2 separate regions of the Homo sapiens genome follow, and region 2 is linked to region 1. Evidence: promoter capture Hi-C in 16 types of primary human blood cells and fetal thymus (Javierre and others, 2016). All regions are on one chromosome and are shown on one strand. Each heading gives the region's core, a stretch centred on a gene start or on the middle of the fragment in contact. The rest is flanking DNA. Distances are from core to core; before and after follow the strand shown.

Region 1 (7,640 bases), core at 3,015-5,514:
CCTGTAATCCCAGCTACTCAGGAGGCTGAGGCAAGAGAATGGCTTGAACCCAGGAGGCAGAGGTTGCAGTGAGCTGAGATCGCACCACTGCACTCTAGCCAGGGTGACAGAATGAGACCTTGTCTCAAACAAAAAAAGTATAAAAAATAAAACTCATGAACTTGTGTTAATAACTTAATAATGTATATCTCTTGCTTCTCTTAAGCTGTGCTTCATGAGTTTAATTTTTTTTAATTATCACTTTTAGTAAAAGCACAAATTAGTGCTCCCTTTTTTCCAAGTATCTGTTTACCCAAGTTATAGTTCCCTCTTACTCTCCCACCTGATCACCTGCCACCCTGAAATCTGCCACTCTGCTCAGCATTACCCCTCTCCCATACTGCAATACCTGATTGTCTTCAGGCAAAGAAAATATTGTTGGAACTGCAGTTTGTTTTAAATATCGAATACCCCATCTGATGTCAAGAGAGTCAGGAGTAAAATGGTCACTACATAGAAACTGGTATTTACTGGGAACCCATGAATCTCGCTTCATATTCTTTAACCACTTTTCCAGTCTTTCTTTGTCATGTAGAGGAAATCTGGAATTTAAAAAAAAAAGAAGAAAAAAGGAAAAACTTTGCTATATTTTTACAATTTTGCCAAATTCCCACCCTATATATCTGGGTAACCTATGCATCAAGTAAGTACTACAAGAGGAAGGCAACCATCCCTACCAAATAAGAGCATCTTCATGACAACTAGTACCATTATCATCTCTGCAGTAAGAGGCCTAAGATGTAAGACATGTAGCCAAGGCTCTTATCTGATAAGAGCTGAACATAATTCAGAGTCCCTTCAAGTAAAATATATGTGTTCCTATAAAGGACAAAATCTATTTGTATTTTCTATGGATTATGTTCCATTTTTATATTGCTGTACAGTTTGCCTAGAACTAGAAAAAAGGTTTGTATAAATTATAAATTCCTATTCAAATGTATTTCATAATACCACCACATGTCAAATGGCTTGTTGTCTATAATTCAAGGCAGTATTAAGCTTTACAATCTTATTTAATATTTAAAAAATAAGATGTTATTTCAAACAAATGATTTAGCTGAAAAAGTACTGAAAATATTCTCTTTACTAGCATCATCTTTAATTCTATCTATAAGTAATCTAGTCTAATAGTACTACACTTCTATAACCAATGAACTGGGAACTCCAAATTTCAAGTTCTGAAGGAGAAACTGATAGAAGAAAAGAATGGAACATGTTAAAAGGGACAGTCTCAGATATTTTATATGAAACAAATCAAATACAAATGGCAAGACAGCGCTGTATACATTTTGTTCCTGTACCTGACAATAACCTGGATTTAAAGTTGGTGCTAACATTACAGTGTATGGCAGAATTTGATAGAAAATTTTTCCTATCAATCTAAAAAGGTTTGGGTCAAGGTATACAAAACAATATTTGAAAATGGTTTATATTCCATTTGGTACTTTTCCAAGAACAGAGTCCAAGACACCACATAATTTCCTGTTTTTAAAAATAGTAACAATATAAGGTTTCTCATATAAAATGTAGCTGTTATACACTCCCTTCCCGCAATCCCAATCATTTAGCTTATGTTTTGTAGTAGCATCATTTTTTCCCCCTAAATTCTGGTAACTTTTTAAGATGCCATGGAAAGTCTGGGTACTCTGTAAGATATAACTTTTAATCCTGATATCCTCATACGGAAAAAAATCAGATAAACTACCTTTGGAAATTCCAACCACAGAAGCAATATTAATCATGTTTTAAAAATATTTTAACTTTACAAATATTAGGTTGTAAGTATGACAAGCATAACCAGAAAAGGAATTTTAAAGGCAGACAAATTTTCTTTTAGAGGACCTGACTTCTTCTGGCCATTGGTAAATTCATTTCTTTTGTTACAACTGAAATGAGAATAGGCCTTTTACAATAATGCTTTTTACTGTAAATTCATGTATATGGATGCTGTTTGCAAATTATTTCCATTGTACCTATATGCTAAGTTATCAACTCATTAAAAAAAACTTTGTGAATATCCTTATTGTTTACTGGATTGTATTGCTTCAATAGGTAAATCTCTAAGAAATCTTGATCATGTTTCCTGAATAAATTATGTCTTTATATTGGTTCAATTCATTTGATAATTTTGTTTCATTGTCTTATGTAATTCCCCAAAAGGCATAAGATAATCACAGTACAAACTGGACACTATATTAACTGAATTCCCAAATTCATATACATTTAAACTACAGTTTGCTGTAGTGTTAACATGAGCAAATTCAATTCAAGTTTGACGCTACTGGAGAATAAAACTAATTCAATTTTTATTTTGTGGATTACACAAGAAAATTTTTTAAAAACCCTAGAAATAATACAACTTTTACTAAATTCACATTTTCAGTGAAAAAAATCTTTACAATTCACTTGCATTATTTTTTCCTTCCTAAAAAGTTACTGTAAGGTCCACAAAGTTTAGTTAAAAATTTCAGTGTGGGGTTATACCCCATCTCCAATATCAAAGGCCAAATAAATCTGGGAAATACGGGGTTAAATCAAGTTCAACATGATCTTTTGCTACAAACATTCTCAGAGATAGAGCCATTAGTACAGTAGTATTTCCCTATAAACTGAAAGTGGATTAGATTGTTTTCCTCCCCCAAACATCTCTTTGCATCTTGAGGCTGGGCTTCAAGGGAGACAATCCTGGAAATATTGCCATGGATTGTGAATTACTTGGGGTTATCAGTTTTTTTTTCTTTTGAGACGGAGTTTCGCTCTTGTTGCTCAGGCTGTGGTGCAATGGTGTGATCTCGGCTCACCTCAACCTCCACCTCCCAGGTTCAAGCGATTCACCTGCCTCAGCCTCCCGAGCAGCTGAGATCACAGGCATGCGCCGCCACGCGCAGCTAATTTTGTATTTTTAGTACAGACGGGGTTTCTCCATGTTGGTCAGGCTGGTCTCAGACTGCCGACCTCAGGTGATCTGCCCGCCTCAGCCTCCCAAAGTGCTGGGATTACAGGCGTGAGCCACCGCGCCTGGTGGGGTTATCAATTTTTTTTCCATTAATTAAAATACTGGAAAGCAGCCGAATCATTAATGAATAAGTCCTTCAGGTCTAAAGTAAAATGAGCACAAAACAACTGCTGAAAATCTGAACCAGGTTAGATCTAAATGAATTGTTTTTAAATACAAGAAAAAATGGAAATGCAGTATTTTAAATATGTTGCTTTTCATGTGTTATTAATCATGTGAGTACTATTAACATCTCCATGTTACAGATGAGATATGTGAGACACCAAAGCTTAAATACTTTCCAAGAGGTCATTAAGCTACAGAATAGTGGAACCAGGATCTAGCATTGAAGCCTGGACCCCTAATTATTATACGACACTGCTTGTCTGTACTTCTGAATAAAAATCAGTGCTTCAGTAGTTTGATGGAAATATATCGTGGCTCTAGTAATTCAGAGTAACAGAATAAAACCTTGTTCTCCGCAGAGTATCTACAGCCCTAAGCAGAAGACTAGTTTATAATTCTGGCTCTGACACTAAACTTTCAAGGTCGGTTACCTAATCATTCCGGGCCTCAGTTTCCTCAGGAGAAAAGTGGGATGAAATTATACCTATGCGACCTACCTCGCGGGGGGTGTAAATTAACTTTGCGTGCACCTTTCCACTTCGCAGGTTTCACGTATCTTAAATGGTGGTTAATGTTGTTCAATGAAATGAGATCACGTGAAGTGGGGAAAAGACTGAAAACCACAGAAGCCCGCGCAAACTTTACTGTTTTAACTGTTAACACCCAAACAGGCTCCTGGGCCTCGCCACCAGCCAGCAGTCCTCGCGCAAGAAGGGCATTGCTAGCTAAACTGAACTAGCGCCTTCCCTCCGTCTTGCCGCGGGCGACGGGCCACGTACGGAGAGCTGAGGACTCACTGGCAGAGCGGACAGGAGACACCCAAGCCCAAAGGCCACAGGTCCAAGGCCTCACGGCGAGGCTGACGCTTCTGCTCCAGAAACAACTTACGGATAAAAACTCAGCTTCCGGTCTTTATTGTTTCGTCCCCGGCGGTTCTTACAACAAATCGCTGCGCAATAGCGGGGCATGACTCGGGTGAGGCCCCTGGAGACCGGGGCCGGCGACGGATGCAGGGCGGCCCTCCTCACTGAGGATGCGCCACAGGTCCAGGCCTCTCGAGCCCCTGCGCCTGCGCTAGCATTCTGCCGGGAAAGCCGCCTCGTCTGTCGACTCACTTCCGCCTCCTCCGGTTTAAGCACCGCCTTTTCGGGGGTTGAAGCCGGAAGTGGCGCACAGCCCTAGCAGCAACAACAGTTTTCCACGTGCGCGTAGGGCGCCGGGATCACGTGGGGAGGCAGAAGCCAATGGGGAAGCGTTTCGTGTAGGTCTTCTGAGGTGGTGGCGCCAGCGGCTACCTCCTGCCTGTGAGGAGCTGGCTGAGAGGGGACTGGGCGCCGGCGGGGAAGGAGGAGCGCTAGGTCGGTGTACGACCGAGATTAGGGTGCGTGCCAGCTCCGGGAGGCCGCGGTGAGGGGCCGGGCCCAAGCTGCCGACCCGAGCCGATCGTCAGGGTCGCCAGCGCCTCAGCTCTGTGGAGGAGCAGCAGTAGTCGGAGGGTGCAGGTGAGGGACGAGGCCGGGGTCGTGGGGAGGGGAGTTCGGAGGGTCCCCGTAGCCCAGGCCTGTCTTTGTGAGCTGACTTGGCCTCGGTGTCCGCCACGGTCGCCGCAGGGACAATGGGCTGCATGTTTTTGGCCGAGAGAATGGAAGAACGGAGACAGCCGCATCACAGAATCGTGTTTTGGGTTGTGGCGCCGGCTTTCACGGGCGCCGGATTAGAGCCCGGGTCTCGGGCAGCTTCTGCGGCGGGGCCTGGGCGGGCAGGGAAAGTGCCAGTCGCCTTTAGGTGAAGGTTGGAGGGTCTAGCCCAGCCGCCCACCGAGGCTGGGGAATAAGGCACGGGCTGCTGGCTGGCGGGGCCGTCTTGGGGATGAGAAGTCTGTACAATACAAAACTAGTCTGCTAAAAAAAAATCATTAGATGTCCACCTTGAGACCGTGGAATAACGTCTGCTGAACCAGTGAGGCGCCTCCCTGTCAGTTTTAGATCCGCCCTTTGACTAGGGAGCAACCTGCAGTTGACGCAGCGTCCATGGGACACACTGTTGTGTTCCTTAAACCGAGAAGTGGTTCTTGATTCTTGGTACCCGTGACTACGAGTAACTCTCTGGAAATAAGTAATCTACCTGCCTGCTAATTACTCTCAGGAAAGGCCGCTGGAGAGGAAGCCAGGCAATTTCCACAAACCGTAGTGTTTTTCGTCAGCCTTATTATGGCATTATAGGTTACTAAGGACTCTGGTGGTCCCGTATTCAAAAAACAGGATCCATCCCTTCGTTTTGAATCTCAAGTCATTGAATACATATTGTCAAGAATTCTAAGTTAACATTTCTTTAATGGTTTAAAGGTAAAAGAAATATTTTAACTACTGAGTTTGTGAAAGTAAGAATCTGCCTTAACCACAGTACAAACTATCAAAGTTCATTTTTCTGGCAGCTTTAGCAGAAATCTTAAATTCTGTTCATCATGAGTTTTAAACAATATTTAGCCATGCTTCCTGGTTAAACATTTGGGATCTTACATTTGGGAAAAAGACAACATTCTATTGTATTGTCAGTATTAGTATTGTGATATTAAGATTCTCTATTTGCAGTCCTTGGCTCACCTGCTGAAATGAAAGCTGAATTTTTGGAGCGAGATTAATAATACTAATTTAGATATACTGGGCTATTTACCTTGGTGCGCCACCTTTTTTTTTTAATGTTTTTTTTTTCTGTGAAGTTAAATACATTATTACTTTCAGGATATGAAGTCTTGAAAGGAAAGTTGGGATCTTATATTATTTGGTTTTCTTTTTTTTTCTTACAATGCTTGCATATGATGAATCTTCAATATAAACTGGTTAAAAGTCAGTTATTGATAATTTTCTATCTCCTCTGTGTATGGCCAGAGTATTAGTAGACAGACAAAGCCAAGAATTATTTTTGTTCTCAATAAGGTTAAGCCAGTTTGAGAGTTATAAAACTAAAAGTGAAATTACATGTGGACAGGTAATAGATACTGTATGCTTACTATTTTGATACTGCATTAGGTTTACCTTGTGTTGGATTTCTTTTAAAAGAAAAACGTTTTAAGATTAGCTCCATCCATAACATTTTTTTTTCTTTTCTGTTTTAGGATATTAGAAATGGCTACTCCCCAGTCAATTTTCATCTTTGCAATCTGCATTTTAATGATAACAGAATTAATTCTGGCCTCAAAAAGCTACTATGATATCTTAGGTGTGCCAAAATCGGCATCAGAGCGCCAAATCAAGAAGGCCTTTCACAAGTTGGCCATGAAGTACCACCCTGACAAAAATAAGAGCCCGGATGCTGAAGCAAAATTCAGAGAGATTGCAGAAGGTAAATAAATGACAATCTCTGAAGTGTCATGGGTATTAACTAGTAAGGAGAATGATAGCTAAGAAGTGTTTGTATTTGAAGGTTTTGTGGAGATGGGAGGTGGAGTGGGATTTATGTATAAATATTGGGTGATTCTCTGAGATTATTTTCTTATCACAGATGCTTTGATTCCTGAATAAATATATGAAAGAATAATAGATAATTTTATTGGTATACGTATCTAAAAATATTGAAAATCTATTCTATATTATTTATAAGATCACTGTTGCTTCTATGACAAAAAAGAATTTTAGGTACCCAAAATTCTTATCAACTAACTTATGAAACAGAATATTTTACATTTTAAACATTAAAGACTTAAAAATTAAACTAGACTCTAAAGTGCTTTATTCACTTGATCTGCTTTTCAAAGCCATATTTGTCTTCAAAGAAAAAATTGGAACAAATTTTGACTTCAGACTAGCTCTAAAACAAATTGCACCTGCTGAGCATTCAGTAATTATTGTTGGATGGAGGTAACTGAGTAGGGAGTTAGAATTAAACAGTTTACTTTAGTAAGGAGGTGCAAAATCTTAATTCCTATTAATTGGTTATAGTTGATGGTTTAATTTTTTAATACAATTAATGATTTCACACGAATAATATGAAGATTAAAGAACTCTGATTGTTGCCCACATGTTTATTTGTAGTAATGGTAACATTTAATAACTTTATTGAGTATTGCAGATGGCATTGTGCCAACTGCTGATAACTCAGCAGTTAATAAGACAGTTTCTGCTTTATTTTATAATTTTGATTAACTTGATGCTTATATTTGTAGTGTTTTGCTTTTATTTCTGATGCGAAATTCTTCCCTAAAATAATAGTATTCAGTTCACTTGCTTGAAGAGATTTGAATATATGTAATTTTGAATATTTTACCTTCAGTTACTAAAAATATTTTTGTCACTTTCAGCATATGAAACACTCTCAGATGCTAATAGACGAAAAGAGTATGATACACTTGGACACAGTGCTTTTACTAGTGGTAAAGGACAAAGAGGTAGTGGAAGTTCTTTTGAGCAGTCATTTAACTTCAATTTTGATGACTTATTTAAAGACTTTGGCTTTTTTGGTCAAAACCAAAACACTGGATCCA
Region 2 (7,640 bases), core at 2,670-5,169, 3.0 Mb after region 1:
AAATTTAAGATAGAAAAATGTTAGACATGTGTTTGCTTAATTTAAACCCATTACATGTTACTGTAAAAGTTATTTTTATAAATAATGACTACTTTTTTTCCAAAAAATTAGAGAAAAGTGGCATTTTTAACATTTTATAAATCTCTTATTATCTGGCTTAAGGAGAGCACTGGATTCTCATATTCTGCCTCTGCATTCAGGCTGTTGTGATATGTTGTTATACCTAAGATATGAAGAAAATTAACTGTCATACGAATTCATAGTTGAAAAAGAGAGGACCTTACAAAGCTCCGGGAAGGGTTTCAGTAACCCCTAGGTGTTCTCAAACCTCACTTGGAGAATTACTGCCAAATGGCCTTTTGCATTTCATTTGTTTGAATGTCATATATTTCCACACAGGCTTCTGTTAACACCTGAAATTATAGCCCTTTACTTATTTCAAGCTAAAACTCATATTTGTCAGCTCATATCAAACCATGACATTTCAATAAAGTTTTTAAAAGCTTTTACTATAGCAACTCTGATGAAATTGATATTATTATTTGAATTGATATGAAAACACTTGAGATTTCATTTATATCCTTCATCTCAAACGTTTTGGAAAATTTTGAATATAAATTGTACCATCTGGAAAAAATGTAAGATTGGTATATAGTTATTAATCCAATTTTAGGTATGCTTATAACAAGGTATATCCCCTTTTATAAAAATAATTTAAAAGCGAGCTTAAAACAAAAACAAAACAAGCAATTACAGTTTTATTTATGAACTAAATACTTGATTCTAAACTTACTACCTTGGAATAAAATTTTAAATATATAACCTTTCATTTTTATTACAAATAAAAATAATGTAAATCATCCAGTTTGGGGTTTTTTAATACAATTTCCAACTAAAAGAAACTAGAGCTGACCAACCAAATGTCTGACTTCAGATCTGGGTCAGGTTATACACAAGATGAGCATAGGATAACTTGTCCCACAAAGCCGGGAATCCATTAACAACAAAATGTGTCAAAGGGACACAGAAACCAATATCAAATAGCTCCTTTGGCCAAAGATGGACAATTTAAGCATCAAAAAAAGTAATGGATGCAGTTGTTAGAAACATACTGAATATATAAAAATTCATGAGTTCTTAATGATGTTCCAAAAAGGGGAGGTCAATAAAAGGAAAAAAAAAATCCACTGGACACTATTGCAAGTAGCTAGCATTAAGCCCTTATTCTAAAATTGTCCATTAAAAGAAAATAATTCAAATTTTCTGATGTATCTTTCCTGATTAAACTATATATCAGAAAACCAAATTGGTGTTGAGGGAAAGTTGTTTTTTATAATAAATATGAAACAACAGAATTGGAAACCCACCATTTAGCAATCTTGCATTTAATAAATGATTCAGGCAACCATCATCAATGGATCAAACCAACAGATGAAATGTTCATGAGGAACTTCACAATGGAGATCAGACCGTCACTACCTCAGCCTAATAATCTGTCATTACAAGTGGGACTCCAGACATTGTGTGCTTCCTGATCTAATGCCATCTGAAGCACTCAGCACAACTATGAAATGTTATCACCCAAAAAACATGAATGGGATCTAATCAAGCCTTAAAACTGACTTCTCACTTACAGGCTTACAAAAAACATGAGGGTTACAGGAATAAGTTAAATGACACCACAAAGAGGCTGGGCGCAGTGGCTCGCACCTATAATCCCAGCACTTTGGGAGGTCGAGGAAGGTGGATCACTTGGGGCCAGGAGTTCAAGACCACCCTGGGTAACATGGTGAAACCCTGTCTCTACTAAAAATAAACAATGAGCCAGGCATGGTGGTGCGTGCCTATAATCCCAGCTACTCAGGAGGCTGAGGCAGGAGAATCGCTTGAACCCGGGAAGCGGAGGTTACAGTGAGCCAAGATGGCACCACTGCACTCCAGCCTGGATGACAGGGTGAGACCCTGTCTCAAAAAAAAAGAAAAAAAGATGCCACAAAGAAGGAAACAGGTAAATCTAGAATGGAGTAGAATGGAGGACACTCTCTAGGACAATTGATGTAGTCTCTACAACAAGTTAATAACTGGACACACAGGAGAGGGAATGGGTCAGGAGAAGCCTAGGTTAAAAAAAATACAGCCATGAAATGTAAGATGTGAACCTTTATTTGGATCCTGATTGAAACATCACAACTATAAAGACTTGTAAGACAATCACGGACATTTAACTATGGACTGGTGTTAGATGATACCAAAGAAATATTATTTTATTAGGTGTAATAATGGCATTGTGATTATGTAAGAAAATGTCCATAATTTTTGGAGAGGCATTCTGAAGTATGTTGAAGTTAAATGACATACTCTCTGGAATTTACTTTATACTTCAACATAAAAAAAAAGAAGGAAGAAAAAGAGATAGCATAAATAAGAAAATAAAATGGATAATTATTGAATCTAGATGATGAGGGGAGTTCTTTGTACTTTTCCATGGTTTTCGTATATGTATGAAATTTTGTATAATGAATATTTAAAAATATAAGTGACGGCCGTAGCTCAGATTTTCTAGAAAACAGTGCCTGAGACAAGCTCACATGTTAAAATTTTCTTGGGGGTTGCAGTACTAGAAAAGCAATAATGAAGGAAAAGGGAGAACAGAGGCAGGGACAGAGGGAGGAAGATCCATGGTGGTATGTTTCCAAGCTGATTATAGCATCCCAGTACATGCAGTTGGTTGCTTAGTCACACAGGACATCTCAAGAAGGCTGTGTGAAACCACTGGGTAACAATCCTCCCTCAGGAGGGGAAAGGTTAAGGCACTTTTTTTAACTGGATCCTTCCTGCCTTCTGTCTCTCATTCATCAATGTTTGTTCCATAAAGCAGGGCAAGCATGTGGGGGAAAAAAGGTTGGGGGCAGGGAAGTGAAAATGGGTTTTATGAAGTGACTGAGATTTGTTTAATCTCACAATGTAGAATTTAAACAAATCAGTGACTTTTGGGTTTAGTGAAGACTTACCTATAATTTTAGCCTTTTTGAACTAGAATAATCATTCTGCTTGACTTTCTTATTACATCAGTAAATAATTTATTCAGGTCAAAGCCATTATTTTTGATTAACAGAAATCACAGTCACATAAATGGCTACAGAAACTAAATATAGGAGAAGGGTTCTACCACAGTGACCTGAACATTTGCATGCGCCCTTGCACATCTCCACAAAGGCCACATCAGCAAGACTTGACTGCAGCTGATCTAAGTCATGGTGGAATTCTGTTGATTCTCCTACAACATGAGATCATGAGAGGCTTGTTAAGAGCTGACCCAAGGCCATTTCTCATTCACCTCCCAGTTTCTCATTGCCTCCTGTGTTTTGAGGAGGTATGACACTTTCTGCCTCATTCTCCCTAGAATACAGCCTCAGGCTGTAAAACTGCTTAGCTGAAGCATGACATTGGTTCCTCAGGAACAGGGTGCCCTATCATCCAGGTTGTGGTCATCTGGCCTCCTTTGTATCAGTGTCACCCTGTGCAAGGGATACCAGAGCTGGCATCTTTGGCTACTCTTGCTTTTGCTTTCCAAGTAAGTAATAAACTGTCTGAATCTAAAAATGGCAACTCATTGTTTTCTTACTAGCTGAATCTATCACCCTTGCCTTACCTTGACAAATTCTAGGCAAGAAATTTTTACTTTCCTTAATGCTAAAGAGGTCCTTTACTCTTTCCTCTTTGTATTTTGCTCAGCCTACAAAGTTAGTAGCCAGTAAACAAACTGATATGAAAATATGAAAGACTTAGATTCACATTTTTAGAAAGAGTAACTGTTCTCTAAGTATTTTAGGATAATTTTTGGCCAACAGTTAAAGGAGCCTTCCTTCTCCTGGCCTTGCCTTCAAATTAATTAATAGGCTATTCTTACAAGGCAGGTCAAGATTCAGTCCTCTTAAAAAATAAAGACCAATCAGAAGGATTTTCAACAAAGTCCCTTTATTTTCTACTCACACTTAAACACTATAGTTGGTAGGGTTCAAAAAGTCTGGGAAAGAGGGAGACGAAGCAAGATGGTGAAATACAAAGCTCCACGAATCGTTCCCACTAACCCACACCAAGTTAACAACTATCTACATGGAAAAAAACACCTTCATAAGAACAAGAAATCAGGTGAGCACTCATAGTACCTTGCTTTAACTTCATAGTGCTGAAAGAGGCAACAAAGAGAGAAAAAATAGTACTGAATTGCCGATGCCACCCCCTATTCCTCCCCGACCCCAGGAGCAGCATGGTGTGGAGAGTGTCCTTGGGTGCTGGGGGAGTGAGAACACAGCAATTGTGCGGCGTTGAACTCGGTGCTGTCTTGTTAGAGCAGAAAGGAAACCCCAAACTCAGCTGGTGTCCACCCACAGAGAGAACATTTAAACTAGCCCTAGCCAGAGGGGGACTTGAGTGCCTGCAAACCTCGCCACCCAGGGCTACAGCTGTCTGTCTCCAAGTAAACTTGAAAGGCAGTCTAGGCCATAAGGACTACAACTCTTAGGCATATCCTAGTGCTGAAGTAGGCCCAGGACAGTGGACTGGTGGGGCATGTGACATACTGAGACACTGGATAGGTAGTCAAGGAAGTGCTGGCCTCACCCCTCTCCTAACCTCAGGCTGCACAGTTTGCAGCTCCAAAAGAGACACCTTCTTCCACTTGAAGAGAAGAGAGGGAAGAACAAGGAGAACTTTGTCCTGCATCTACGGTACAAGCTCAGCCACAACAGGATGGGGCACCAGATAGACTTGCAAGGCTGCAAGGCCCCTGTTCCAGGCCCTAGTTCCCAGAGAACATTTCTAGACACACCCTGGACCAGAAGAGAATGGCTTCAGGTAACAGCCCAGCCACAGTGGGTAGAAAATCAAGCAAGCTCTCGAGGTCCCTGATTCTAGGATTTTACTCTTGAACAGCATTTCCGGACCTGTCCTGGGCCAGAGGGGTGTCCACTACCCTGAAGGGTGAGTCCCAGGCCAGGCAGCATTCATGACAAGCTGACTTAAGAGCTGTTGGGCATTAAGGGAACATCAGTGGTAGTCTGGCAGTACTCTTCATGGCCCAGGATGGCAGTGGCTATAGGGTAAGGCTCCTCTGCCTTTGGAAAGGGGAGGGAAGAGTGGGAAGGACAGCATCTTGTGGTTTGTTTAACAGCTCAGCCACAATACAATAGAACACCAGGTAGACTTCTAAGGTTTTTCACTCTAGTCTCTGACTCCTAGACAATGGCACTTCTGTACCCACTGGTGGGCTGGGGGACCTTCCCTCCCTGAAGGGAAGGACACAGGCCTGGCTGGCTTTGCCATCTGGTGATAGTAGAGCCCCAGGGTCTTCAGCAAACATAGGCAGTAGCCAGGGGGTGGTTATAGGAGGCCTTGGTCAAGTACCAGTGCTCTGCTGGCTTCAGGTCTAACCCGGCACGGTCTTAGTGGTGGTGGCCACAGGGGTGTTTGTGTTACTCCATCCCTAGCTTTAGGTGGCTTGGAACAAAGACAGAGGCTGTTTGGGAGAAAGTAAGAAGAAAGGAACAAGAGTCTCTGCCTTGTAATCTAGAGAATTCTCCCAGATTTTGTCCAAGGCCATCAAAGCAGTACTCTGTGAGTCTGCAAGAATCATAGCATTACTGGGTTTGGGGTGCTCCCTGAAGTACATCACAACACTCACGTCCTTGTAGATCACAACACCCAAGTCCTTTCAAATATCTGGAAAGCCTTCCCAAAGATGGCTATAAATAAGCCCAGACAGTGAAGACTATAGTAAATATCCACTCTTCAATGCCCAGACACCAAAGATCATCTACTAGGATCAACACTATTCAGGAAAACATGACTTCATCAAATGAACTGAATAATGCACCAGGGATCAATCCTAGAGAAACAGAGATAGGTTGAAGAAACTCAAAAACATTCAAGATAACACAGAGAAGGAATTCAGAATAATATCAGATAAATTTAAGAAAAAGATTGAAATAACTAAGAAGAATCAAGCAGAAATTCTGGAACTAAAAAATGCAATTGGCAGACTAAAGAATCCATCAGAGTACTTTAATAGCAGAATTTGTCGGGGAATTTGCCCTGATATTCACGTAGGTTCTTTTCTATTTTTCCGAAGTGTCAGCCAGTTTGAGAAATAAAGGGACAGAGTACAAAAGAGAGAAATTGTAAAGCTGGGCATCCGGGGGAGACATCACATGTCGGTAGGTTCTGTGATGCCCCACAAGCCACAAAAACCAGCAAGTATTTTTTAAGGATTTTCAAAAGGGGAGGGAGTGTGCGAATAGGTATGGGTGACAGACATCAAGTACTTAACAGGGTAATAGAATGTCCCAAGGCAAGTGGAGGCAGGGCGAGAGCACAGGACCACAGGACCGAGGTGAAATTAAAATTGCTAATGAAGTTTCAGGCACCATTGTCATTGATAGCATCTTATCAGGAGACAGGGTTTTGAGATCAACCGGTCTGACCAAAATTTATTAGGTGGGAATTTCATCTTCCTAATAAGCCTGGGAGCGCTATGGGAGACTGGAGCTTATTTCATCTCTGCAGTTTCGACCATAAGAGACAGGCACACCTTGCGGGGGCTGTTTATAAGCCTAAAACTCCAGGCGTGTATTCTCTTTCTCAGGGATGTTCCATGCTGAGAAAAAGAATTCAGCGATATTTCTCCCATTTGCTTTTGAAAGAAGAGAAATATGGCTCTGTTCTGCCCGGCTCACCAGCGGTCAGAATTTAAGGTTATCTCTCTTTTTTCCTAAACATTGCTGTTATCTTGTTCTTTTTTCAAGGTGCCCAGATTTCATATTGCTCAAACACACATGCTCTACAATTTGTGCAGTTAATGCAATTATTACATGGTCCTGAGGTGACATACGTCCTCCTCAGCTGACAGGATCAGGGGATTAAAGTAAAGACAGGCATAGGAAATCACAAGGGTATTGATTGGGGAAGTGATAAGTGTCCATGAAATCTTTGCAATTTATTTTTAGAGATTGCAGTAAAGACAGGCATAAGAAATTATAAAAGTATTAATTTGGGGAACTAATAAATGTCCATAAAATCTTCACAATCCACATTCTTCTGCCATGGCTTCAGCCGGTCCCTCCTTTTGGGGTCCCTGACTTCCCGCAACAAGAATTGATCAAGCAGAAGAAAGATTTAGGGAGCTTGAAGACAGGCTATTTGAAAATACAGCCAAAGGAGACCAAAGAAAAAAGAAAAACCAATGAAACATGCCTACAGGATCTAGAAAATAGCTTCAAAAGGGCAACTCTAAGAGTTGTTGTTCTTAAAGAGGAGGTAGAGAAGGGAATACAGGTAGAAAGCTTATTCAAAGGGACAATAACAGAGCCCAAACCTAGATAAAGATAACAACATCCATGTACAAGAAGGTAATAGAACACTAAGCAGATTTAACCCAAAGAAGACTACCTCAAGGAATTTAATAATCAAACTCCCAAAGGTCAAGGATAAAGAACAAATCCTAAAAGACTGGTGGCTTTGCATGGTGGCTCACATCTCTAATCCCAGCACTTTGGGAGGCCAAGGCAGGCATATCACTTGAGGTCAGGAGTTCGAGATCAGCCTGGCCAATATGGTGAAACCCTGTGTCTACTAAAAAAAAA

What was found. Contacts are between HindIII fragments. The CHiCAGO score rates a contact against its expected background, and 5 or more counts as called.
Region 2: a contact is called between a fragment that was not itself captured here and the fragment with the promoter of THAP5 in region 1, in 12 of 17 cell types (non-activated CD4 T cells, activated CD4 T cells, naive B cells and 9 more). The highest score is 24.1, in non-activated CD4 T cells.

The regions. Positions count from the first base shown.
Region 1 is chr7:108,565,442-108,573,081 of GRCh38, forward strand. It overlaps THAP5 (THAP domain containing 5), which reads right to left and starts at 4,265. Exons shown (of 3, transcript NM_001130475.3): 1 at 4,049-4,265; 2 at 389-581. The coding sequence starts at 4,128. It overlaps DNAJB9 (DnaJ heat shock protein family (Hsp40) member B9), which reads left to right and starts at 4,433. Exons shown (of 3, transcript NM_012328.3): 1 at 4,433-4,662; 2 at 6,276-6,502; 3 at 7,458-7,640. The coding sequence starts at 6,286. RefSeq lists enhancers at 3,848-4,327, 3,861-4,588. The HindIII fragment of the contact is 6,219 bases long and covers 3,322-7,640 here.
Region 2 is chr7:111,565,868-111,573,507 of GRCh38, forward strand. No RefSeq gene overlaps it. Among named protein-coding and RNA genes, the nearest start is that of IMMP2L, 7.2 kb to the left of the region's middle. The HindIII fragment of the contact is 6,837 bases long and covers 502-7,338 here.